Regions from separate parts of the Homo sapiens genome. Here all the other regions are linked to region 7. Evidence: promoter capture Hi-C in 16 types of primary human blood cells and fetal thymus (Javierre and others, 2016). All regions are on one chromosome and are shown on one strand. The core of a region is centred on a gene start or on the middle of the fragment in contact, and the rest is flanking DNA. Distances in the headings are between cores, read along the strand shown.

Region 1 (3,847 bases), core at 662-3,161, 1.5 Mb before region 7:
TGTTAGTACATATATATAATTTATAAATTAATACATTTATAAATTAATATAAATACATATATGGGGCTGTGGGCTCAGAAATATTTCAATGAAAAGAGTAGGTGATTGGCCAGGTGTGGTGGCTCACGCCTATAATCCTTACACTTTGGGAGGCTGAGGCTGGTGGATCACTTGAGGTCAGAAGTTTAAGATGAGCCTGGCCAACATGGTGAAACCCTGTCTACTAAAAATACAAAAATTAGCTGGGTGTGGTGGTGCACACCTGTAGTTCCAGCTACTCAGGAGGCTGAGGCACGAGAATTTCTTGAACCCAGGAGGCAGAGGTTACAGTGAGCCAAGATCATGCCACTGCACCCCAGCCTGGGCAACAGAGGAAGACTCTGTCACCAAAAAAACCAAAAAAAGAGTAGATGATCAAAAGGCTTGGAGATCCCTAAATAGTTGTTTATATTCTCCTTTTTTCTTCTTTATTTTATTTATGTTGGCATGGTTTTCCCAACCAGATCATCAGTTCCTTGAACATATAGACACGTTCTTATACTTATCTAGTATATCCCAAGGGACCTCCTTGTGGTTGTCACTAAATGAATGAGCAGCTATAAATACTTTGATTTAACTGACCTCCTCCAGGAAATCTTCCTCAGTTTCTCTGCTTCCCCCTCAACCCCATGCTGGCCGCCTGTTCTGAATTCCTATAGCTGTCTGTAGCAGTCACTGCATCCATTGATTATATACCACTGTGCCTTTTCTGTAGCTTCAGGTATCAGAGTTGTTCTGCCCAAGTAATAACTTTGATAGTTGAAGGCACTGTCCAGCCTGCGGTATTGGGGATATCATAGTACATGCCCAATAAACCTTTGCAAGCTCACTCACCTGAAGACTACTCAAGAGTTTCGGTTTTCAGTTATCGCAATAACCCTTCCTTTGCCTCGGCTTGGATTGGCTCGAGGAGTGAGCCAGAGGGAGGTGTATGTGCCACTGATGGTACATGAGATTATTTGGGAGTGGGCGGAAGAGGTACATGGGTTCTTAATTTTAAGATACGTACTTGCTTTAGCATGTGTTATAAAGGACAGAGAATATTAGACCACAGTTTCACAAATGCTATTGCTTAAGAGAGTCCATTTAATGAAAAATTTTAACATTAGTATAAGTAGTATGTGGATATGGCAGAATCATGCAGCCAGCCCGTGAATGACTGAATTTGGAGTACTGTAGCCCAAGCTTGTTCAGATAGACAGCTGAAGCCCCAGAAGCCCCAACCCCCTTAACCATATCTTTGTCAAGGGCTTTTTCTTTCTTCCTAGTCCCTCATGCAGACATAATGAGTTTCTTGTAACTTTGATTACTCTTAAGAGTTTAATAATCCAAAGGTATCCCATGAACTGCTCTGAATCTCAGTGGGCAAATGGGAACATGGAACTCTTTTCCAACACAGACAGCAAATCAGTGGCTTCTGAGAAGCACAGAGGTCAGAAAGTTGGGCCTCTGCCACAAGGGACTCACAGCTGTGGTTCTCTGCATTGCTGTTCCTGGAACTCTTCTCTGCTCCAAGAGGTACCATAGGACAGGAACGCCCTTGAAATTTCCAAGCCACATGGACCCAGACTTTGCTGCGTGGGTGTCATCTGGTGCTGATGCAATCCTAGCTCAGCTTTGAAGTCCACTTGCAAACTCCTAGCAGAGCCACGTCTTGATTCATTTTCCTACCTCATAATGAAAGAGTTTCTCCCTTTTTCCTACTTGGCTGTTTTTCAGAATGAACTTTTTATTCCTTTAATTGAGAGTGGATTACCATGATTTGACTATTTTGGAATTTCAAAAGCCCTTTGTTCCCCTTACTAATGAGCCAAGGCAGTTGACAGTTTAAGAGGTGTAGATCATTCTCCAGTGTCCTACTCTGGGGGTTTCAGGACAGCACTTGCAGAAACCATGGGGTTACTTTAAAGTTTAATCAACATGAGGGGGGTGTGAAGAAGCACTCTCAGTCAGTGTCGGTGAGAATATAATTTATAGATTGTTGGTAGGAATGTAAATTGGTGTGAACTCTAGAGAGTAATCTGGGAATATCTGTGAGAATTAAAAATGCATGAATCTATGCCTTTGTCCTAGCAGTCCTCTCTCTCTAGGAATTCATCTTTTAGATACATATGCATGTAAGCAAAGTAATTTTAGAGAGATCCATAGCGGAATCATTTATAATAGCAAAAAATTGGAAATAACTTAATTATCCATGGGTAGGAGATTGGTGAAATTATAATAAAGCCTTCTGTTGGAATTTTATATAGCTGTTAAAAAGAAGGGAGCAGCTCTATAGATAGAATATAGAAGGAACCTCAAGTTATGTTCATGAAAAAGCAAGGTTCAGAACAAAGGGAGCTATTGTTTGTGTGAGAAAAATAATCAGCTTCTACATACATGTGCATTTTCACATATACATAGAATACCCCTGCAAGAACACACAAGAAACTGCTAATTGTTGTCTCCGAGATGAGGAACTGGAATAGAGGAGTAAGAGGGAAACGTAGTTCTTATGTTACATCCTTTTGTATTATTTGAATTATTTTTACCTACTTTAACGATTTTAAAAGTTTATGGTAAGCTTTAATATTAAATTGCTTTTGATTTTCCAAATTAGTAACATTTCATTTACTGGCTAGTGAACTAAAAAAGTTTGAGAAAATGTATACCTATACTCTATGTACCATTAGAAAGATACTATCAGCCTCATTTCTTTCTCCCTTTTAATAGCTCACGGACACAGACCTAATTAAACAGTGTATAGATGAATGCACAGCCAGGATTGAAATTGGACTGCATTACAAGATTCCTTACCCAAGGCCAGTAAGTGTGACTCCGGTTAACAAGTGCTGGGTACTTACCCTCATCAACCTGGTTATTTCCAAGAATGTGTAACAAGAGGGCGAGTGCTTGCTGAGAAGCCCAGAGCTGCTGTGGGAGGCATGTTGGAAATAAGCTATCATTGCATGCTGCCAGCCCATCACAACAAAGTAAAATGTCAATGAATGCATGACGTATCCTGCTTACATAGCTTTCCACGTATGGAAGGGAAAACCAGCTCACACTGTAGAGCTTTTTCTCTTTTCACTTTCATCTTTTTTATGGAAATGTGTTTAATTATAAAAGGCAGGTTTGTTGTTACTAAAAGAATAAAGTTCAAACATGAAAGGAATGCATAAAGTAGAAAGTAAAAATGGTCAAAAATTCTCATCCAGGCTAGGCACTGCGGCTCATGCCTATAATCCTAGCACTTTGGGAGGCCAAGGCAGGAGGATCACTTGAGGTTAGGAGTTTGAGACCAGCCTGGGCAACACAGTGAGACCCCATTGCTATACAAAATTTAAAAATTAGCCAGGCATAGTGACACACTCCTGTATTCCCAGCTACTTGGGGAACTGAGGTGGGAGAATTGCTTCAGCCCAGGAGGTTGAGGCAGCAGTGACCCATGATCACACCACTGCGCTCCAGCCTGGGTGACAGAGTGAGACCCTGTCTCAAAAAATAAATAAAACTTAAATTTATATATATAAATTTAAAATAAAAAAATTATATAAACTTAATACATTCAGAAAGTTAAGAAACAAAATAAATTTCAAATTTATATGAATTTAAAATAATAAATGTATATAAATTTATGTTTTCTTAAATTCTTTCATACCATAAATTTAAAACAATAATTTAATTTAAAAGAAGTTTTATTTATTTATTTATTTGTGGAGACTGAGTCTTCGCTTCATCACCCAAGCTAGGTACAGTGGTACAGTCATGGCCCACTGCAGCCTTGACCTCCCAGGCTAAAGTGATTCTCCCACCTCACTTCCCCAAG
Region 2 (3,812 bases), core at 305-2,804, 1.5 Mb before region 7:
AGCCTTGCTGCTGCCTAGAGCTTGCTCTGTAACTTTAAGCATTTACTCATCTTTTTTTTTTTTTTTAAATGAGACAGGGTCTCACTCTGTCACCAAGGCTACAGTGCAGTGGTGCGATCTCAGCTCACTGCAGCCTGACCTTCTGGGCTCAAGTGATCCTGCTGCCTCAGCCTCCCAAGCAGGTGACACTACAGGTGCACACCACCACGCCCAGCTCCTTTCCCTTATTTCTTGTAAAATGAGGTCTCACTGTGTTGCCCAGACTGGTCTCAAACTCCTGGGCTCAAGAGATTCTCCCGTCTAAGCCTCCCAAAGTACTGGGATTACACGCATGCAGTGCATTACCATGCCTGGCCTACTTATTTTTCTTGATTTCTGTTTTCCCACTGAAAATAACCACTTTTCAACCTGTTTTCAGCCTCAGAACATTTTATTCAACTAGAATCTAATAGGGTAGCCCAATATAACAGAATATTACAGTAACTTTTCACAGACTGAAGTAGTAACGTGAAACAGAAGGAAAACAGCAAAACCCCCTCATCCCTGCCACAAGCATACTTCAACAATGGCGGAGAGGGCTCCTCAAAGCCCAGCTTGAAATAAACACCAGATATGCTAAGATTCTGCAAGGGTCTGACTTTTTCCTGCTTCTCCTAAACTTCAGGAAGGGGAATTAACAGCATTCAAAGTAGTAATGCTATGACTTGAGACTCGTTCAGAATCAAAATTAAAGGACACATACTAATCCACTTTAAGCAAACACTGCATAGAGTTCAAACCCATCATGAATGATAGAGAGCTAAAAGCTGTAACCCAACTCTGCCGCTTGTGTGGAAACAATCTGCTACTAAAATAAAGGAGCAGGCCAGGTGTGGTGGCTCACGCCTGTAACCCCAGCACTTTGGGAGGCCGAGGCAGGCAGATCACTTGAGGTGAGAAGTCTGAGACCAGCCTGGGCAACACAGCGAAACCCCATCTCTATTAAAAATACAATAAATTAGTGGTGCATGGTGGTGCAGGCCTGTAGTCCCAGCTACTCAGGAGGGCTGAGACAGGAGGATCGCTTGAGCCTGGGAGGTCGAGGCTGCCGTGAGCCTTGATCATGCCACTGCATTCCAGCCTGGGCCACTGAGTCCAGCCTGAGACTCTGTCTCAAAAAATAAATGAATACATAATAAATCAAAAAGGGGCAGGTTTTTTCAACACTTTCTCTTGGCCCAACAGGCAGAAAGAGGGGCAGTGGCTCCGAGATGCTAAGCAGTCTCAAAAATGAAGAGTCCCACACTATACACTGCTGCTATCTGAGATTCTTAGTCAGTCATCAGACCTGGTATGAATCTGCAGGCCCAAGTGACAGAATTATTTCTAGTCACCAGGTCCTGCGGTTGAGCCCTCCAGCAGAGCAGGGCACAAAAGGATCAGGGATGATGCTTCCCAACACTATGCAATCCAAGCTTCTGTGTGGCAATTCAATCCCAAGCCTAACAATATAGTACAGCTCAAAGGACACTCTTGAACAAGGTCAAGCCCTCAGGAAGGTAGACGAAGTCATTGACATGTCTGCCTTTGCATGCAACCAGGCTGGTATCCAGGCTCTGGGCACAGGTGACTTATTTTGCCACAAGAGCTAATCACCACCTCAAGACTGATTTACTAAGCTTCCCTGTTCTGATGTATGGTATTTAAAGAAGGTCTCATTTGCACACATCTTAAAGAAAATGATTTCCCTATCTGCCATTCTCTTCTTTCAACATGTCACAACTTCAAAGAATAAGAGTTTGAGCCACTTCCAATCTTTTCTTTCATTTTCAGTGCAATTGGCCATCTGTATCAATAGGTTCTACATTGGCAGATTCGACCAACCATGGGTCAAAAATATTTGGAAAAAAAAAACCTAATAACAATACAACAATAAAAAATAATATGAATTTTTTAAAATACAGCATAGCAACTATTTACATACCACTTACATTGTATTTGGCTGTTGTTTTTGAGATGGGGTCTTGCTCTGTCACCTAGGCTGGAGTGCAGCAGCTCCATCACGGCTACTACAGCCTCAACTTCCTGGGTTCAAGCAATTCTCCTGCCTTAGCCACCCCAGTAGCTGGGACTACAGGCATGCACCACCATGCCTGGCTAAGTTTTTTAAATTTTTTTAGAGACAGGGCCTGACTATCTTGCGTAGGCTGGACTTGAACTCCTGGCCTCCAAGCAATCCTCCCACATAATAAAACAAAAAGGGGGCAGGTATTTGTAGTAGCCTCCTAACGTGCTGGGATTACAGGAATGAGCCACCACACCCAAACTGTATTAGGCATTATAAGTAATCTGGAAATGCCTCCTGAGTAGCTGGGACTACAGATGTGCATCACCGCCACTCCCTGCACCTTCCCATATACTACCACTTTATGTAAGTCTTGATCATTTGTGAATTTGGTAACTAAGGGGTCCAAAACCAATCCCCCAGGATACCAAGGGGATGTAAATATGTTACGCTCTAGTTTGTAATTATTCACTGATTAAACGGTCAAGTTCTGTGGTAATCCCTTCTCACCACCCAAAAGAATAGGATTCACCATCATCTAGGAACACAGACGTAAGAACTAGTGAAACTAGATTTGAACTGAAAGACACTAACTCAATTAACCCTGGTCCATTGTGCAAAGAGCTCCAGAACAGTCTAAACAGACACAAAGAGATAATTTTAAGTTATCAAGACCCGGGAAAACAGGAGTTACCACGTCATTACCATTGTTTCAATCTAAGTTACCACTTCTTCACCTCAAAACAACTGGCAACTACTGCACAATTAAATGTCCTTACTTCAGCACATAGACAGTCCCAGACTACTTCAAGTACTTACACAACCATTCTGTTTTTCACTTCCAGTATTCACTCAATAAATTACATGAGATATTCAATATTTTATTATAAAATAGGCTCATTAGATGCATTTGCCAAACATGCCAAACATGCAGGTTCTTGGCATGTTTAAGGTAGGCTAGGCTAAGCTATGATGTTCGGTAGGTGAGGTATATTAAATGCATTTTTTTACTAACAATATTTTCAACTTATGATGGGGTTATAAAAGGTAACCCCACTGTAAATCAAAGAGCATCTGTACACCAAAACAGTAGCAAAATCTGATTACCTTTTAGTCGTGTAATGCAATGTAAAACCACTTACCCACAACTCCAATAGCAAGTGGCATCAACTGGCTTTCTAGGTTGCCCACCTTTCAGAAGAGTTTGTCCAAAAGCCTGCAAAGTGTAAGAAATAAATCCACTGGTACCCTAAATTAAAAGGCCAGCTCAGCTCCGAAAATCCAATCCACTTAAATTTGTGGATTCTTTCCCCAAACACAATTAGTAGCCAATGTAGGAGACAATGGCTTCTCCTTGTGTTCAAGTCCCCTCCTACCCACCCGCCCCCTTTCAAAAATTAGAAAAGAGCCACCAGTCTCCAAACTGGCTGATGAAACTTCAGCCTACAGGATATTTTCATATTTGAGTTACAATAAACCATTGAAATGAAAATGAAGTGGAGAGCTTAATAACCCATCAGATAGAGCATTTTATGCCAAGCATCAGCATATAAGTTAAGTCCAAAACCTTTAACCTGGGCCAAAGCCAAATAATTAAATTAACAAATCTCACTACCAATTCTCTATTCCTTTGAGATACTCTAGTATGAAGAGTAGAAGTTGCCTGTTCCTAGATGTTTACTTTAGTCATTTGCTTGCTAACTAAAAGACATTCTGTTTGCAATCAAATCAGAATTAGTAATTCAGTACCAGGATCTACCTCGTCCCC
Region 3 (3,596 bases), core at 398-2,897, 1.6 Mb before region 7:
TTTACTCAACCTGAACAAAAGAAAGAAACTAGAATGGGAAAAAAAAGAAAAAAAAGAACAGAGCCTCAGGGACCTGTGAAACTATCATAAAAGATCTAACATGGGGGCTAAAAATTTACTCCAAGAAATAATAGCTGAAAAGTTCTCAAATTTGTCAAGAGACATAACTATAGAATTCAGCAATACAGAAAAAGAAATATACAACAGGACCAAGCAAGGTTTATTCCAGGGAGGCAAGGCTGGTTCAATATTAGAAGATCAGTGTAATCTATCTTATTAACAGGCTAAAGAAGAAAAACACCACATGCTTATAGTAACTGATGCAGAAAAAACACTTGCCAAAATTCAACACCTATTCATGATAAAAACACTCAGAAAAAAATAGAAATAGAGGAGAATTTCCTCAACTTGATAAAGGGCATCTACACAAAACCTACTACTAATATTGTACCTAACCATGAAAGACTGAATGTTTTCCCTCTAAGATCAAAAGCAAGGCAAGGATGTCTGCTCTCATCACTCTTATTCAACGTAGAGCTAGACACTCTAGCCTGCGCAATAAGGCAAGAAAAGGAAATAAAACGCATATAGATCTGAAAGAAAGAAGTAAGATCTGTTTACTTATTTACAGGTAATGTGATTACACAGAAAATCCCAAGGAATCAACAACAAAAGACTCCTAGAACTCAAAAGTGACCAACAAATTCCTCTTTAAGTAAAGTTGGGTCTCTCACATGTAATTGAAAGAGTCCTTTATTTATTCACATATCCATCAACTATTTATTGAATGCCTAAAATTTGCCAGTAGCTATTCCAGGCAATAGATACACCATCAAACAAAAAGAGTTCTTACCCTCAAGGGTGATAGTAAGAGATGTAAAAAGTTAAAAAATGGTAAAAGAGAAAAAATGAAGAGTGCTACTTTAGAAAATGAGGTAAGGGAAGAGTTATTTAATAAGACACCTCAGAAAATGAGGAATTTGGCCAGGGGGATATCTGAGGAAAGAGTTCCAGTCAGTGGAAACTGTGAATTCAGAAAGCCTGAGGCTGAAACAGGCAAGTGTGTTTGAGAAAAAGCAAGGAGGCCGGTGGCTGTGCAGAGTGAGGCAGAGGAAGGAGAATGGGCTGTGGATCAGAGGACCCTGTGCCAGATCATACAACTCCTTGCAGTTCATGTAAGGACTCGGATTTTACCTGGAGTGGAAAAAGAAGCACTGAAAGATTTGAGCAGGGGAGTAACCTGATAGCGTTTATGTTTAGTCCTGCCACTTCGACAGATAAACGCACCAATGGGCTTGATGAGATTTAGGCCAACCCATAACCGCCCCTCAACTTCTTTCCTTTCAATTTCAAAACTCCTCTATGGCTTCCTCCATCTGTTCTTCCTTCTGAGAAGTGCTCTCTCTGCCCCTTTACAGAACTAACCACTTCGGCAACTCCTTGGACACTTTCCTTCTTGTTAATAATTTGCTTTCTCCGCCCCTCAAAAGCTTGCTGTTTCTGTAAATCATTACCTGTAAGAGGAACCGCTGGGAGTCCTGTAAACTTTAGCCCAGAGCTTGGCTCCTCCTCCAGAATGTCTCCACCAATCAAGGAAAGTGTTTTGGGCCAGTCTTGCTCCTCCGGATTGTCAGACTGCTCCTCCCTCTTCTTTAGACTGCCACGAGGAAAAAGCAGATGTGAGAACTCAAGGTTCAGGGCTGCTCTTCTAAGAAACAAGTCTGCCATAATCTCCATCTGTGTTGGAATCTGTTAACTAGTGAGTACCTCATCTCCCCTCCTGTGTAAGATTTCCTGAACTGGCACATCTGTTTTTTGAGCAAAGATAACAAACAGATGAACAAAACCAACAATCAAAAATGCTGTCATTAAAGTCTTGGGCAGCCAAAGTTTCTCTCAGAATTTCTCAGTTGTGTGATACTATCTATTAAGTGATGAGGAGTATGCACACACAAAAGGCTATAAATGTAGCAGCTGAGTTTTCATGTTGAGCCTTTTGGTGCTATTTGATTTTTTGAAAAACTATGTACATGTATTAAGTTGATAAATTTTTTTTTTAATTTTAATTGAACCAGATGCGGTGGCTCAAGCCTGTAATCCCACCACTTTAGGAGGCTATGGTGGGCAGATGCAGATCACTTGAGGCCAGGAGTTCGAGACCAGCTTGGCCAACATGGTGAAACCCTATCTCTACTGAAAATAAAAAATTAGCCAGGTGTGGTGGCAGGTGCCTGTAACCCCAGCTACTTGGGAGCCTGAGGCAGTAGAGTCACTTGAACCTGGGAGGTGGAGTTTGCAGTAAGCTGAGATTGCATCACTGCACTCCAGCCTGGGTGACAGAACAAGACTCCATCTCAAAAAAAAGACCAGGTAGTGGCTGAGATTTTCATTGTACTGTCTGCTTAGCTCCCCACCTTGCTCAGTGACAGATGGGAATCCATCTTCTGCATCATCCAGAAAGTATGTAAATTACTTCCAGGAAACTTTGGGAAACACAGATGCAAACCTAAGAGCAGCCAGTTTTCTCCTTTAGGTGGTCAAGGGCAGCTGCAAAAGTTCTGTATAGGAGGGGCTTCAGGCAGGGTCTGGTTGGGTTTGGAGACAACAGCAGTGAATTTACCTTGCGTTGAGGCTGTATATGTTAAACTACTGTTATTACTTGGATACTTAGAGGGAGGGATGTTTAGGGAGCTGTGGGGAGGCTAAAGCCCCCTTGGCTGTAGGGACAAAGAGCTTGCATTTCAGATGAGACCTTAAATACTTTCAGAAGCCTATCTGACCAGGGGTGGTACTGTCTTTCTTAGAAGAGTTTTCCTTACCAATGTTTCTGTGGCTCAGTATAAAAATCTGGAGTCACCCTGGGAAAGTTATCTCAGCAATTTTACCTACAAATAATTTTATAAACCTGGGAAATAGAAGTTGTAAAATGCTAAGATCGATGAAAAGGGAGGAAAAGAACTTTGTTGAGGAGAAGGTAATCTTATGGTTTTGATGAAGAGGATGTCGATATTTGCTTTTTGGTAGAACAGAATGGTTAGGTTCATTTTAAGCTCCAAATGACTGATCAATTTTCTTTTCAACATACGTTTGAAGGATTCTGAATGTGGTGTAGAGTATTGTATGGGAGCTAGGGAACAAATCATACTAAACTCTGATTCTATTCAGAATCAGCAAGCTAAGTATGATATATTTATCTCCAATCATATTAATATTTACATAATTATTTAATGTCTTCCTTAATAGTCTATAAGCTTCATGGGAGCAAGACCAGCCGTGTCTTGTTCACAGCTATATTTTCAGCATTTAGTACAGGTCTGGCATATACCAAGTGTTCAATAAATACACGGGTAATGAATAAATGCGTTGTCCAATTTAAATATGTGTGTCTGTTTGTGTATACTTCCTTGTCTGTAAAATGAAAATACTAATAAATAACTGCAAAATGCTTAACAGTACAACCACTTGCCAGATCTCAGCAAAAATGTTACGTCCCTAGAGAGACCTCCTAAAAGGTCCCTTTTCTCCCATTACTCTCTTTGTTTTCTTGCGTAACATCACATTTATTTATTCCCTTGTTTACTATATGTGTCTTTCTA
Region 4 (3,330 bases), core at 737-3,236, 1.5 Mb before region 7:
TTTGAAAGTGTTCTCAATGTCCCTCGCATTGCACCCTTTGAATTCACTACTAAGAATATATGTCCAGTTGAGGCCTCAGGACTGAAGCCAGTGTGGGCTGGCTAGAACAAATGCCTACTTGCCAAATACAGCCAAGCCAACACACGCACATACTATAAAGTTTCCAAATACCAAATAATGAACCATTTTTTTGGTCTCTGGGCTTCCAAACTGAGCTACATGTTTAATCCCACATAACTCAAAATAACCAAAAAAGGGCTATATCATTTCACTGACCCATACTTGAAATATTTTTTGCTGTCACTATTGATCTGGGCATTTCTAACTACCCACTTATGTGCAAGGGGGAGCATCATAAATGGGCACCAAATTTCTAGGTCATTCTTTGTTTTCACACCAGCTTTTCCAGTGACTTTCCCTGTTTAAAACCAGAAAGCCATCCTGGATTTGTACTGAACCTTAACTCTAATAAAAACGGCATGCCTGCTGCACTCTTCATCTCCGTTATAAGCTTGCAGCTTGTTTTATTCCTTAGGATGGAGCCTCAGTAGAGCCCACTGAAAGTAAACCACTGATTAGCACTAATACCCTCCTTCCAGTCAGCATATGGTTATCAGCCACCCTGGAGGTTTACCTGATTGTAGCTGATTAGTCCTCAAAACACCCAATTACCACATCAACTGCTCATTTTTCAATCACCTTCTGAGAACTTGGGAGTCAGCAACTCACTGAAAATTAGTGAACTGGAGATAAGGTTAGATTTTTGCATCTAAGTAAAAGGCAAGAAAGGAAATTATGAAATGAGTCCAAAGACGACGAAGGAACACAACATACAGATGATAAATGACTGCATCCAAATGTCTTAAAGGGCACCTGGATGACCACAAATGTAGATATGTGGTTTCGGGAGCCAAAGGCCTCTAAGTAGGCCTCAGGTTCACCACGTGGTAACCAATCAACCTCTTAATGTTTGCTAATTCTTAAAAAAAAAAAAAAAAATCTAAATCCATTAAGACCACATTTATCAGCTTTTTCCCCACGATGGAGGTTGACTGCTAATGCATAGCAGACAGGAAGAGGAAGAGGGACAGAAAAGATCCACACAATAAAAGAATTCCTGCTTTCAACCACATCAGTAACCTGGTCAGAAAAGTGAGGTCACTAGACTCTCTTTCCTGCTGGCAAATTCAAAAGTATTACATAATTATTTTGTGAAGTTTAGAAAGTACAGAGAGGCATAAAGAAAAAAAAAGCCAATCACTAATTTCACCACCTACGGTTAATATTTTGGAGTATATCCTTTCAGTCTTGCTTCACTGCGAATCACATCAAAAAGGCTAACCAGGCTAGGCGCAGTGGCTCACGCCTGCAATCCCAGCACTTTGGGAGGCCAAGGCAGGTGGATCACGAGGTCAGGAGTTCAAGACCAGCCTGGCCAACATGGTGAAACCCCGTCTCTACTAAAAATACAAAAATTAGCTGGGCATGGTGGCACATGCCTGTAATCCCAGCTACTTGGGAACCTGAGGCAGGAGAACTGCTTGAAGTGGGACCTGGGAGGCAGAGGTAGCAGTGAGGAAGACTGTGCCACTGCACTCCAGCCTGGGCTACAGAGCGAGACTCTGTCTCAAAAAAAAAAAAAAAAACAACTAACCAATCCAATGATCCAGTGATTCTGGCTCCAGGGATTTTAAGGAAGTGTTTTTAAATGATGGGGGAATGGGGAGAAAAGCAGCTTAATCCTAAAGACATCTTTCACTTATATCTAAATTTCCTCAATTTATTCTTTCAAAAGAAGATCAACTTCCTCCTCACACTCCCTCCAAGGAAAAGAAGAGGACAAAGATGATGACCATCTTAAGGTCTAATGAGTAACAGTCCCCTTATCAAAGGTTTAACATCAGGGGTAGAAGGGTCTGGCCCATGGATTGAGTGATTCACATTCCCAGGGAGCAAGAGGCTCATTCAAAAGAGAAATGTGGAATGCCTGGAAATGGTCAATGGGCTGGATTTAGTGTGAAGACTAACATGGGCTGTCAAGCTGCAGACTGGGTCAAAGGACAGATTTGTAGCAGACGTGTCTGCCTTCCCAGCATCCAGGCTCTTCATCAGGTGATTACCCAATTTTCACCAGCAGATCCTTTTCCCTCGCTCTCGGCCATATGGCTGGGTGGGGTTCATAAAGAACTATGGGACTCAGCCCCACCAAGGCCTCACATGCCCCTGGCTTTAATGACTGGACCCAGGATATGCCCATGACAAGCCAGCCAGACAGAATCTCAACCCTGAAAATACAGGAGGCTGGAGATGCTACCAGAAAGAGCTACCAGAGAAAATAAGAATGCCTAGGGGGTCACTGTGAGGATTAAATGGTCCCTGTTTATCACATGGGGCTCAGCTCAAATGCATGTAGAACCCAAAAATGAAATCACCAAGTGGAAAGCAGTATGAAGAGACAAAGGGAAACTGAATTTTGAAGGCATTATTTACACCCTGAATCCAACTGTTCCTAGAGTCAAGATCAAAGCCTGAACTTCACAGGTGTGAGCCAACAAACTCTCCTTTGCATAAGTTAGATATCAGGTTTTCTATCACAACTGAAAGAGTCCCTACCAAGACACAGCTATGTCACTCAGATCTCTTCTATTCAGAGAGCAAAGAGAGAGAAGATCTAATTGCCAGATGTTCTGATTCATGGTTCAGAACCAACTGACTAGGCCACAATTTCTAGTCGAATATATCATAGGACCCTTAGCTGAACAACAGGACCAATGATCCCAAGTTCATGAAAGCTGTCAAATTCCATTATAACTACGTGGACCAGTAGGATGCTATTTAAAAGATGGTATGACTAACTGGCTACAAGAATCTTTCCAATTGCAATTTTTACACCGTTAGACCTCCTTCAAGTAGATATGCCACAGAATACTTCAGGAGCTTTATTCTATTGTGTACATATTTGCTGTCATCATCTTGTTCCCAAAGAGGAACCCCGTCCCAGCATTCAGACACCATGTGAAAGGCTGAAAGCAAAAATCTCTCAGAAGTCTTTCTCTGTACAATAACATGATCAACCTTCCAGCTGAAACAGGTATTTGATCTAAACCATATCCCATGAAACTGAAAGCCCAAATCTAACCTGAACTTGGCTACCCTCTTGGTTTCAATTCCTATCACTGAGACAATTTCTCTTTGATTTTACATGCCGAAGAGCCTATTAAGAAAGTGTTTAAGTTTCAAAGACTGACAGGAAATGCTCATGTTTGCACATCTTTATTTGAATACGTTCTCTGCAGGTTGAAACTTGAGGCCCCAAGGTTTAGGCTTTGA
Region 5 (3,676 bases), core at 686-3,185, 1.6 Mb before region 7:
CGCATGCCCATACCAGCAGCCATCCCTCCACCCTTCCCTCCTCCCGCAAGGCCTGGCAGCCGGCCCGCCCGCCCACCCCGGGACCGGTACCTTTTCTGGCCCATACATGTCGTCGCCGTATTCGTTGAGGAGGCTGTAGGCCTCCTCCACGCACTTGCGCTCGTTCATATTGCAGGTGATGAGGATGCCCTGTAGCCCGGGCTCTAGCTGACGGGGCCCGCCAGCGTCGCAGCGCCGAGCGCGCTTGGCCAGCACATACTGAGCCTTGCCTTTGCGCTTCCCGCCGCCAGGCTGAGTAGTCTGCTGGGCAGGGGCCGCCATGGTGTGCGCAAACTGAGAGGAAAGAGAAACGTTTCTCCGCTGCTGTTGGCGTCCTCGTCTATCGCCGGCGCGAACTGGTGACGTCGGATATGAGCGACGGCCTCCCCTAGCCGGCCTCGAAGCCTCATTCCGTGCTGCGCCAGGTCCTAAGGCCGGTCTGCAATCGTGAAAGGGGTGGAGTGATACCCGCCCAAGCCCCGCCTCCTGCCCCGCCTCCCGACTGCAACCTGAATCCAGTAGAGGCAGCATAGCAGCCATTCTGGAAGTGGTGTCGGTGGCTCCTCAAGCCCTTGAAGCTGGCTCCAGCCATATAGCTTCTTCCACCCAACCTTGGTACCTGTTCCTCCAGCCTTCCCTATAATTCTGCCAGCTACTGTGGAGGAAAAGTTAAATATTAAATTTGAACTCAATTGAACGTGGACACAATGGTCAAGTCCCGTAACAGGTTGCATGAGCCCCTTGAGGCATTCATTCATCCAGCACTGTTACAGATAACTCTGTACCTGTACTTGAGTTATTGAAAAACAGACAATCACAGAAACAAGTTGACCTTTATGTGTTCCTTGAGCCCAGTCGAGAAGGGCCCTCGTGACTGGGCCTCATGCCAATCAACGCATTACAAAAAGAGCCAGGGTCGGCCGGGCACGGTGGCTCACGCCTGTAATCCCAGCACTTTGGGAGGCCAAGGCAGGCAGATCACGAGGTCAGGAGATGGAGACCATCCTGACCAACATCTCTACTAAAATGCAAAAAATTAGCCAGGCGTGGTGGCGCGCACCTGTAGTCCCAACTACTCGGGAGGCTGAGGCAGGGGAATCACTCGAACTCGGGAAGCGGCGGTTGCAGTAAGCCGAGATCGTGCCATTGCACTCCAGCCTGGCAACAAAGCGAGGCTCTGTCTCAAAAAAAAAAAAAAAATGAGCCAGGGTCCCAGGCCACACGGAAGCTTCTTGAGACCCCTCCTCCTCTGTGCACGGACAAGTGGCTGACTCTGGAGCCCAGGCTGTTGCTTCCCGGTCTGGTGATGAATCCAACATAGTCTGGTGCGTGTAAATATATATATATATATATATATTTTTTTTTTTTCCCTTCTCCCCTTCCCATTGCAATTTGCTTACTATATCATTTGCTTATTATATCTGCATTGCCATTTACGTGGGATAAAGGTTGTTTACCCCCAAAGGTATTGTATGTTTGTCTATTTTTTTTTTTTTTTTTTGAGATGGAGTCTCGCTCTGTCGCCCAGGCTGGAGTGCAGTGGTGCGATCTGGGCTCACTGCAAGCTCCGCCTCCCAGGTTCACCCCATTCTCCTGCCTCCCTCCCGAGTAGCTGGGACTACAGGCGCCCGCCACCACGCCCGGCTAATATTTTTTATTTTTAGTAGAGACGGGGTTTTACCGTGTCAGTCAGGATGGTCTCAATCTCCTGACCTCGTGATCCACCCGCCTCGGCCTCCCAAAGTGCTGAGATTACAGGCGTGAGCCACCGCGCCTGGCCGTATTTTGTCTTGTTTTTTCCCCTCGCGCATTTCCCACATAGAACAGTTACTCAAAAGGCTTCCAGTAAATTCCATTTCAGCCTCAATTTTCCAGGCTATGTTTCTATTTCACTTAAAACCAAGGATGTTGGCTGGTGTTGTTTCATGCTGCTTTCGTTGCGGCCTTTTATCCATAGTCTTGGCAACTTATCATGTTACTGTCTTTTTAAAAATCATTGAAGATGCCACTTTTGAAGAATGTGTTTAAAAAACAAGTGCTTCTCATACTACTCTTCAGGTACAAACCTCTTAGCAGATTTGAGTTCCTACAAAGCCCTAAAAGATGTAATCTGATATTTTGAAAGGGACACCGAATTCACAGTCAATAAACCCTAGGTTCTAACCCCAGATCTACCACTATGTCCAAAAATTTTATCATCTTATTGTTTGCTTTTACCTGTGTATTCAATACAGCATTTAATTTTCAGAATTTCTTTGGTGGACACTGCACAGCAGAGATTTCTAGAAGTCCTCAGTTGTTTGTGAAGAGCAGTGTCATGACACTGGCATTGGCCTTCCCCCAAATCTCTCTCTCTTCTGCTGGCTGGGTTTCAGTTGCCCACACTCTGCCACCTGTCCTTAGGATATCAAATATTAGCATACAGATAACAAGTTAAAATATATATATTTCAAGTCCCAAGCATATTTGAGTACTATATGGAGGCAAACTTGAAAAACAAAAACTCAGTTTTGTTAAAATATGTGAGGAGGCAGCTTTAGGCTAAATTTAAGTTTGGCCTAAATCAAGCTTGTCCAACCTGTTGGCCCACAGTCAACATGTGGCCCAGGACAGCTTTGAAATTCAACCGGCCCAACACAAATTAATAAACTTTCTTAAAACACTCTGAGGTTTTTCTGCAATTAAAAAAAATTCATCTGCTATTGTTAGCATTAGTATATTTTATGGGTGGCCCAAGAGGATTCTTCTTCCAAGGAAGCCAAAAGATTGGACATCCCTGGCCTACAGGTTTCTCCATACATAGTGAACTATAACCTAATTGGATGTGTAAACAGACTGTAATGGCTGTTGTAACAAGTAGCCAAATCTCAGCCAAGCACAGAAGCCATGCTCAACCACTCACAGGTGGCTGATTGTTCAAACCATGTTTTTTATTTTTATGTTTTTTGAGACGGAGTCTTGCTGTCGCACAGGATGGAGTGCACTGGTGCAGTCTCGGCTCACTGCAACGTCCACTTACTGGGTTCAAGCGATTCTCCTGCCTCAGCCTCCCAAGTAGCTGGGATTACCTGTGCATGCCACCACGGCCAACTAATTTTTGTATTTTTAGTAGATATGGGGTTTCACCATGTTGGCCAGGCTGATCTTGAACTCCTGACCTCAAGAGATCTGCCCACTTCGCCTCCCAAAGTGCTGGGATTACAGGCATGAGCCACTGCGCCCAGCCAAACCACGTTTAAATAAGGCAAATACTGAGTTGTAACCTATTGGGCTGTTTCTGTACCTTACTTCCATTTCCTGCACCTCACTTTTCTTTTTATGTCCATAAATCATCTCTGACCATGTGGCAGCACCAGGATGTCTCTAAACCTATTCCGGTTAGTGGGTCAGGGGCCTGCCTGATTTGAGAATCCTTCCTTGTGCAATTTAATTCTGTTAAATTTAATTTGTCTAAAGTTTTTTAACAGTTTATTGTATTTCATGGTTGCTGACTGTGCAGAGAATATCCAATGAAGTGAGAAAAATATGCAACCCTGTAGCTCTCAGTCTAGACGTTAGTTATCTAAATCACACACTCATCCTGTGGCAGCTGCCGGGGCTGCGTCCACTTACTTCCTCTTCTGAAACAGGCCCTCGT
Region 6 (3,519 bases), core at 658-3,157, 1.2 Mb before region 7:
ACATTTTATCATCTTTTTTTAAAAGTATCATACACATCTTTTCACATCACTAAACAGTCACACTATCATTTTAATGACTGAATTTATCATTATTTAACCAATTTTCTCCTAATGGAAATACAGTTAGCTACTTTCCAATGTTTTGCTAGTCATTATATGTTATAAACAGGGATGCAATGCACAGCCTTTTAGTACATTTTGAGATACCTGTTGGATTATTTCCATCATGTTCCTGGAATATAAATTCCTGGATTGAAGTGTGTGCAATCTGAAATTGTTGTGAATATTGCCAGGTTACCCTCCGTCTGCATGCCCACCATCAAGGTATGAGGATGGTAGAAGCTCTCGTCGAACCAGATGGATGAAGACCACTAACGGCTTTTGTTTCCTCTGGTAACAGCAAGAGACAGAGCGACATGAGAGATTGGACCGCGGGCTGCACTGGAGAATTTACTGGTAGGATAATTCATCCCTAAAGAGATTGAAGTGAGCTTCAGAATGGCAAAAGAGGAGCCCCAGAGTATCTCAAGGGACTTGCAGGAACTGCAGAAGAAGCTGTCTCTGCTGATAGACTCCTTCCAGAATAACTCAAAGGTCAGTTTCCAATCACTATGTATAATGGAAAATCCCAATATAACACTAGCATAAACAAGATAGAAAGTTATTTCTTTCTCCAGTAGAAGGAATTTGGAGGTAAGTCAAGAATCTTTCTGGCTTACCGCCCTGCCATGTCTATGCTGTGACCTTCAAACTCCTTGTCTGAGATGACTGCAAGAGCATCAGCCATTGTATCCATCTTTCAGGCAACAGGATTTGAGGAGGGGGGAAGAGAGAAGTGCAAGCCACCTACAATTTAAGGAGACTTCTGGGAGTCGCACACAATACTTCCAATTACATCCCTTAAGCCAACATTGAGTCATTTGCCACTAATGGCAAATGCAATTCTTTAGCTGGATAAAGAAGTCTGTGCAACAGATATCATCCTTTTTTTGGTTTTGTTTGGTTTTGTTGTGAATTTTGCCCTATCTGTTACCCTGAAAATGAGAGACAAAAGCCTACTTCAAGATTTGAGTTCATTGTTCCACTAGGAATCCAGGTCCGATAGAAATATGATGTGAGTCACGTATGTAATTTAGAATTTTTCTAGTAGCCACATGTAAGAAGTAAAAAGAAATAGGTAAAATTAATTTTGGCTGGGCATAGTGGCTCCCGCCTGTGATCCTAGCACTTTGGGAGGCTGAGGTGGGTGGATCACTTGAGATCAGAAGTTCGAGATCAGCCTGGCGAACATGGTAAAACCCCATCTCTACTAAAATTACCAAAATGAGCAGGTGTGGTGGTAAGGCCTGTAGTCCCAGCTACTCGGGAGGCTGAGGCAGGAGAATCACTTGAACCCAGGAGGCGGAGGTTGCAGTGAGCTGAGATTGTGCCACCGCACTCCAGCCTGGGCGACAGAGCGAGATTCCGTCTCCAAAAAAAAAAAATTATTTTTAATAATGTTTTTATTCAACCTAAGATATCAAAAATATTTCAACATGTAATCATTTATACAAAATTATTAATGAAAAAAGATTCTTGAAACATTGTACCTTCTTTTTTGAACTCCCTCTTCAAAACCCCCCGTGCGCATATTTTACACTTCTAGCACATTTCAATTCGAGTTAGCCACTTTTTAGGTATTCAGTGGCCACTCAGTGGCAATGAGACTTCAGATAGCGTTATGTTTTCTTGCATATTTATCCTTATTGCTTTCTTCTATATGTCTTTCAGCATTTTGTCAGGGAAAAGAAAACAGCTTTCAGAGATAATACTGTTAACATTTTGTATGTCATTCTAGACCTTTTTTCTATGCAATATACCTATAAAAATACATATGTATATGTAACAAAATGAACTATTTTGTGGTGTATTTTTTTTTGTATTGGATAGCACAGCGGGTCTACTCGAAGAGATGCTTGTTTGCAATCTACAACAATAAATTCTGGACTTGCTCCAGAATTTATTTGGCACTCTTTGTGGATTTACCAAGCTATTTTTAAATTGGACAAGCAGCTTTCTCGCCAGCTGGCGGGGACTCTTGTTATTAAAAGTTAGCTCAGTAAGAAGGGTCCTCCTGCCTGTTCCACATTTACAGCTGATTCTCATTAACCATGGTAGTTACGTTCTATAAAGTTACTGCAGACACTGAATTAGCACATACCAAACCATCGCTCCTAGGGGAAATACAGGATTCAGTTGCTGTGAGCCTCCTGTTCACAACATTTTTGTCAGCTGATCAGTACATAACCTCGTTTTATGTGTATTTCTGTTTAAAGACATGTTAATATATATTGTTGATCATTAACGTTGAACTCAGGGCCAACAACAGTACTATGACTCATGTCTTAAACAAAGCTAATCACACACATGTATTTTCTGCATAAGGCACATCACAGCCTTCTCATGGTTAGGAACGCTAGAGAACACTTCAGCACTACACTTGGGGACCATTTTCAACAGTAAAATCACCAAACTAAAGCATAAACGTGGCACTAAATAGACCACAGTGACACTTGTTTAAAGGATGAAACAGGAAGGCTCGGTGTCACCTTGCTTGACCTCAGCTGGGAATGTACGTGGCAGGTGACTCCACTTTTTGCTGTTGTGGACGTGTCCACTAATGACCTCAAAAGCACTGCAGGCCAGGCGTGGTAGCTCACACCTGTAATCCTAGTACTTTGGGAGGCCGAGGCGGGTGGATCCCTTGAGCCAGAAGTTCAAGACCAGCCTGGCCAACATGATGAAACCCCTTCTCTACGAAAAATACAAAAATTAGCTGGGTGTGGTGGTGTGCGCCTGTAATCCTAGCCTCTTGGGAGGCTGAGGCACGAGAATCGCTTGAACCCAGGAGGTGAAGGTTGAAGGGAGCCAAGATCACACCACTGTACTCCAGCCTGGGTGACAGAGCAAGACTCTATCTCAGACAAAACAAAACAAAACAAAAAGCACTGCCAGTATTCATTTTGAGGTTACAAATAAATTTCAGTGAGGAGGCAAATTTACAAATATGGAATCATGAGTAATAAGGATTGACTGCATATTTCTTGGCACTGACTGTATGCCAAGCACTGCACTAGGCATTCACCCTGGCCCTGTCTGAACTTAGTTAATAGTCACGTTCACCTGCCTTTTTTGTTTGTTTGTTTTTGTATTTTTAGTAGAGACGGGGTTTCTCACCATTTTGGCCACGCTGATCTCCAACTCCTGACCTCAGGCAATCCACCCACTTCGGCCTCCCAAAGTGCTGGGATTATAGGCGTGAGCCACCGCACCTGGCCACCAGTGGTTGTAAATGGTCCTGACCCTTCGTCTTTCTCCTGTTAGGAAGAGATAATGAATCATTGATTGTTTTTTGCATTCTGATACCAGGGAATTTGCCTGGCTCCTGAATCATCCAAGTTTCAGTCTTCATGTTCTCAAATACTGGCCACTTTGTCCCTAGTTTAGAAGCCAACCGCCTTTGTCTGACCTTGGGCAAGT
Region 7 (3,662 bases), core at 843-3,342:
AAATATTTAGTTGTGATGATACAAATTAAATTATAGGGAAGTACTGCAGTGGTACAGTGGTTGCCTCACAAATCCTGGAGAAACTATCAAACTAGGCCATCAATCCTTACGGGGAAATCTGAAAACAGGTTTGTTAATATGTATAATAAATTTGTCTCTTGGACATAAAGAAGATGGTGCCAAACACTGCACTGCAACCACTAAGTAGCTTGGACTCTGTAAGTGTAATAAAGGTGAATTACTTTGGTTAAAGTGATTGCATGTTAATTTAAGAAATTATCTTCCTCCAAAAGAGGTGCTCATTTTATTTTCCTTTTCTGAGTTATTCAGGTCTACATTCTTTTCTTCTGCCATGTTCAGTGGTTAGCATGAACAAGCAACATGATCATTTAATATTCAACTAAATGAGATGTTAATTTTCATTGCAAGATTAGAGCTGAGAGCATTTACACAGAATTGCAGAAACTGAAGATGCCTGGAAAAATTCCTGAGGATTGTTCAGTACTCAGTATAGCGGTTAAGAACGTTTGCTCTGGAGTCTTAAGGAGAACCCTAGCACTCCCCAACATTACTACCTCTATTGTGTTACTGGGAGAATTAAATGAGCAACTGTGTTATGGGCCTATCAGTGTTAGGCACATAAAAAGTGTTCCCCAACTGCTAGCTCCTGCTATTAGTATAAGAAAAACAGGGGCCCCACTGGCCCCAAAGAGTGGGCTACTCTACGATTGTTCTCTGGAGACACCATCGGCAGGCCTGTTTCTAAGTGAAAGCTGGCGTGCAAACTGAAGAAAAGTGGCAGAGATAGATGCGCTCTTTCTTCTGTCGTTTCAATTGGCATCTGGTGAACTATGCCTAACAGCTTAACGCCCAACTGAAAAAAACTGTAAACTAGGATGGTAAGGAAGAGATGGGGTTTGAGCAGTGACTACAACTCTTCTTCTGAGTGTGTGGGTTCAAAAAACACTCCCTCCCACACTTAGCTTTAGGCAAGCCACTTTACCGTTTTAATCTCCGCTTTCCTCATATGGAAAATGGGATAACAAAAGTGTGTAATTGGATTGTTTGTACCTCAATGGATAAATGCTGGGATGGACGCCCCGTTCTCCATCACGTGCTTATTTCACACTGCGTGCCTGTATCCAAACATCTCATGTACCCCACAAATATATACACCTACCATGTACCCTCAAACATTAATTTTTAAAAAGTTACTGTCTCCTGGAGTTACGGTGCGGAGCGCACAGCTCCCGCTACGCCGCAAAACAACTACCACCTGCAGCAGCCGGCCCTCCACGCTGGCCATGAAAGGCGCTGGGCTAGACAGCCTGCGACGGGGCGGCTTCTCGGGCTATGCCACTTACTGCGGGACACACTGGCTCACCCGGGTCTGCCTCGGAGGAATGCAGTGAGGATTAAACTAGCTAATCCACGGAAAGCGCTTAAAACGGTGCCTGGCTCGTCCCTGGCCCCCACGCGCCTCGGGGCTGATATTCAACTGCGCATTAGCAAGGCCGTGGGCCCCGTGCCGAGGCTTCCTGCGGGCGGGATCCGCGGGCACGGCCGGCCCAGCCGCCAGGTGAGCCTGAGCCCTTCCCGGCACCTGCATCCTCCGCCGCCACAAAAAGCAACTTTTTAACAGTTTCGCAGCGGGGGCCTCCCGGGCCAGGCCGCCGCCCGCCCGCGGGGCGCCCCCGCCCTCACCTTGCTGGAGGTCCTGGTGGTCGTACCACGGCTCGTCCTCCTTCATCTCAAACTCCTCTACCAGGTTTTCCGCCAGCATCTCGGCTGGGTCTTCTAGGGGCAGCGGCCCCCGCCGCCGTCCCGCCTCAGCCGCTGCCCCGGGCTCTTCCCCGGCCCCTCCGCCCTCAGCCAGAGCCGCCCTCGGGCGGGACGCGCCGCCGCCCAGACTCCGCTGCGCCGCCTCAGCCCCGTTCCCGCCGGCGGCCGCCGACCGGCCGGCTGCCTCGACTCGCCTCGCGCCTACCGACGGCCCCAACGGCCGGGCATTACGGTGCGAACGCCTGGAGCCGGAGTCTCACGCAGCCGCCAGTCTTCACGCCGCCGCCGGGCCCAACGTGGCACTTTGGCAGAACCCTCCCCGGCCGGGGATGCGATTCAAACCCCCGGCGGCGCCTCAACCAATCGCGAGCGGGCTGCTGGCCGAGCGGCAGGGACTTCGTCCAATCGCCTCTCTCCAAAGACCGGCGGCTCGCCCGGTATCGAGGGCAAGCAGCCAATGGTGGGTCCGGAATAAACAAAGAAGGCGGGGAAAGAGTGAAGGGGTGCGGCCGAAAGCCCGTCCCCTGATCTGCGCTGTGAGGCTCCTAGGAGGGCGTTCTGGGTTTCGGGCTGGGGAGCTGGCAGAGGCGCGTCTTACCCCTGTGGTGGGTGTCCCGAGGCCGGCGCGTCTGTGGACAGGCAACGCAGGCCGGAGGGCCTAGGACTCCGGCCTCTGAGAGGCGGGCGGTTGTCCAGGGGAGTCCTTCGTGCCGGCGGGAAGCGCAAGGGTGCCGGAAGCCTGAGGTCCGCCGCCCGGCCACCCCTTCTCGCATCTTGACTCTGAGATTTGCTCCGGGTCCGGCGGGGAGACTCGAGGTCGATCGGGAGTTTGGGTTGAGAAAACGCCCACTGAGCGGTAGCTCTTGTCTCCTTGACATCTGAGCCCTGGGAATTAAACTCACGCTACATAAAACGGTGGGCACCAGACCCCCTTGAGAATCTGGGGCGGTGAGGGATGCCCGAAGCTGTCCACTTGGAGGGCGAAAATTGTAAGCAGTGTTGCAACGATTTTTAAAAGGTACCCCTAGACCACAAGTTAAGCATCTGGGGACGTGACATTGCACCTGGAGGGGACAGGCTGCAGCTCCAGCACTTAGTAGCCAGCGAGGCAGAGCACGCTGTCCTCCACCGACATAACCCAGCAAATACTGCTCCTAGGTAAAGCTTTAAGCACCATCTTGCAGACAAAGCACGGAAACTCTTAAGCAGGATGACAGACCTGAAGGTCAATGTTCTCAACCTTGACGTAAAGGTAAAGGTGCAGCTGATGGAAGACAACAGGGCCAATATCTAACTAACTTTGAGCAACGAAACAAAAAAAAATCGAGGTTTAAGTATACAATTGAAAGATTATCTCTAGAACATGAGGTAATAAACTGTTAGAAATTCAGAGAGAGGGAAGAGGTGGAGAGGAGTGTTAAATCCTGATCTATTTTAGAAGTGAGTCGACAGATAATACCTTACATTGATAATCCAATGAATAGTTTCCACAAATATGGAGAGAGCTGCCAGAACTAAAAATGGGAAGCAATTAAGAGTTTTCCGAGGCTGGACACGGTGGCTCACGCCTGTAATCCCAGCATTTTGGGAGGCCGAGGCGGGCGGATCACCTGAGGTCGAGAGTTCGAGGCCAGCCTGACCAACATGGAGAAACCCCATCTCTACTAAAAATACAAAATTAGCTGGGCGTGGTGGCGCATGCCTGTAATCCCAACTACTTGGAAGGCTGAGGCAGGAGAATTGCTTGAAACCCGGGAGGTGGAAGTTGCAGTGAGCCGAGATTGCGCCATTGCACTCCAGCCTGGGCAAAAACTGCGTCTCAAAAACCAAACAAAAAAAAAAAGTTTTCCTAAGAGGAGGAGTGATTTGAGGCTGGGGAC

The links. The method cuts DNA at HindIII sites, captures the fragments that hold promoters and counts their contacts. A CHiCAGO score of 5 or more calls a contact.
Region 1: a fragment that was not itself captured here is called in contact with the fragment with the promoter of CDR2 in region 7 in 1 of 17 cell types (erythroblasts); the score reaches 5.6 in erythroblasts.
Region 2: a contact is called between a fragment that was not itself captured here and the fragment with the promoter of CDR2 in region 7, in 3 of 17 cell types (fetal thymus, non-activated CD4 T cells and naive B cells). The highest score is 8.1, in fetal thymus.
Region 3: the fragment with the promoter of ACSM3 here is called in contact with the fragment with the promoter of CDR2 in region 7 in 1 of 17 cell types (total B cells); the score reaches 8.2 in total B cells.
Region 4: a contact is called between a fragment that was not itself captured here and the fragment with the promoter of CDR2 in region 7, in 1 of 17 cell types (fetal thymus). The highest score is 9.6, in fetal thymus.
Region 5: a fragment that was not itself captured here is called in contact with the fragment with the promoter of CDR2 in region 7 in 1 of 17 cell types (fetal thymus); the score reaches 6.7 in fetal thymus.
Region 6: a contact is called between a fragment that was not itself captured here and the fragment with the promoter of CDR2 in region 7, in 5 of 17 cell types (erythroblasts, total B cells, fetal thymus and 2 more). The highest score is 17.2, in erythroblasts.

Annotation. Positions count from the first base shown.
Region 1 is chr16:20,917,371-20,921,217 of GRCh38, forward strand. It overlaps LYRM1 (LYR motif containing 1), which reads left to right. Exons shown (of 4, transcript NM_001128302.3): 3 at 2,752-2,844. Among named protein-coding and RNA genes, the nearest start is that of LYRM1, 19 kb to the left of the region's middle. The HindIII fragment of the contact is 1,378 bases long and covers 1,223-2,600 here.
Region 2 is chr16:20,893,122-20,896,933 of GRCh38, forward strand. All of the region lies in intron 1 of DCUN1D3 (defective in cullin neddylation 1 domain containing 3), which reads right to left. Among named protein-coding and RNA genes, the nearest start is that of DCUN1D3, 5.3 kb to the right of the region's middle. The HindIII fragment of the contact is 204 bases long and covers 1,453-1,656 here.
Region 3 is chr16:20,762,367-20,765,962 of GRCh38, forward strand. It overlaps ACSM3 (acyl-CoA synthetase medium chain family member 3), which reads left to right and starts at 1,648. Exons shown (of 14, transcript NM_005622.4): 1 at 1,648-1,759. RefSeq lists an enhancer at 1,785-1,914. The HindIII fragment of the contact is 1,761 bases long and covers 1,489-3,249 here.
Region 4 is chr16:20,871,492-20,874,821 of GRCh38, forward strand. All of the region lies in intron 1 of DCUN1D3 (defective in cullin neddylation 1 domain containing 3), which reads right to left. Among named protein-coding and RNA genes, the nearest start is that of DCUN1D3, 27 kb to the right of the region's middle. RefSeq lists enhancers at 2,872-2,971, 3,222-3,330. The HindIII fragment of the contact is 2,955 bases long and covers 510-3,330 here.
Region 5 is chr16:20,741,419-20,745,094 of GRCh38, forward strand. It overlaps THUMPD1 (THUMP domain 1 NAT10 acetyltransferase adaptor), which reads right to left and starts at 400. Exons shown (of 4, transcript NM_017736.5): 1 at 91-400. The coding sequence starts at 321. It also overlaps a transcript of ACSM3 not described here. RefSeq lists enhancers at 146-195, 206-475. The HindIII fragment of the contact is 1,340 bases long and covers 1,266-2,605 here.
Region 6 is chr16:21,160,685-21,164,203 of GRCh38, forward strand. It overlaps LDAF1 (lipid droplet assembly factor 1), which reads left to right. Exons shown (of 5, transcript NM_001301771.2): 2 at 401-594. The coding sequence starts at 499. Among named protein-coding and RNA genes, the nearest start is that of LDAF1, 3.8 kb to the left of the region's middle. The HindIII fragment of the contact is 4,069 bases long and covers 1-3,519 here.
Region 7 is chr16:22,372,527-22,376,188 of GRCh38, forward strand. CDR2 (cerebellar degeneration related protein 2) reads right to left here and starts at 2,093. Exons shown (of 5, transcript NM_001802.2): 1 at 1,705-2,093. The coding sequence starts at 1,783. CDR2-DT (CDR2 divergent transcript) reads left to right here and starts at 2,361. Exons shown (of 3, transcript NR_148970.1): 1 at 2,361-2,697; 2 at 2,801-3,034. RefSeq lists a silencer at 1,626-1,855 and enhancers at 2,396-2,475, 2,816-2,865. The HindIII fragment of the contact is 4,746 bases long and covers 1-2,944 here.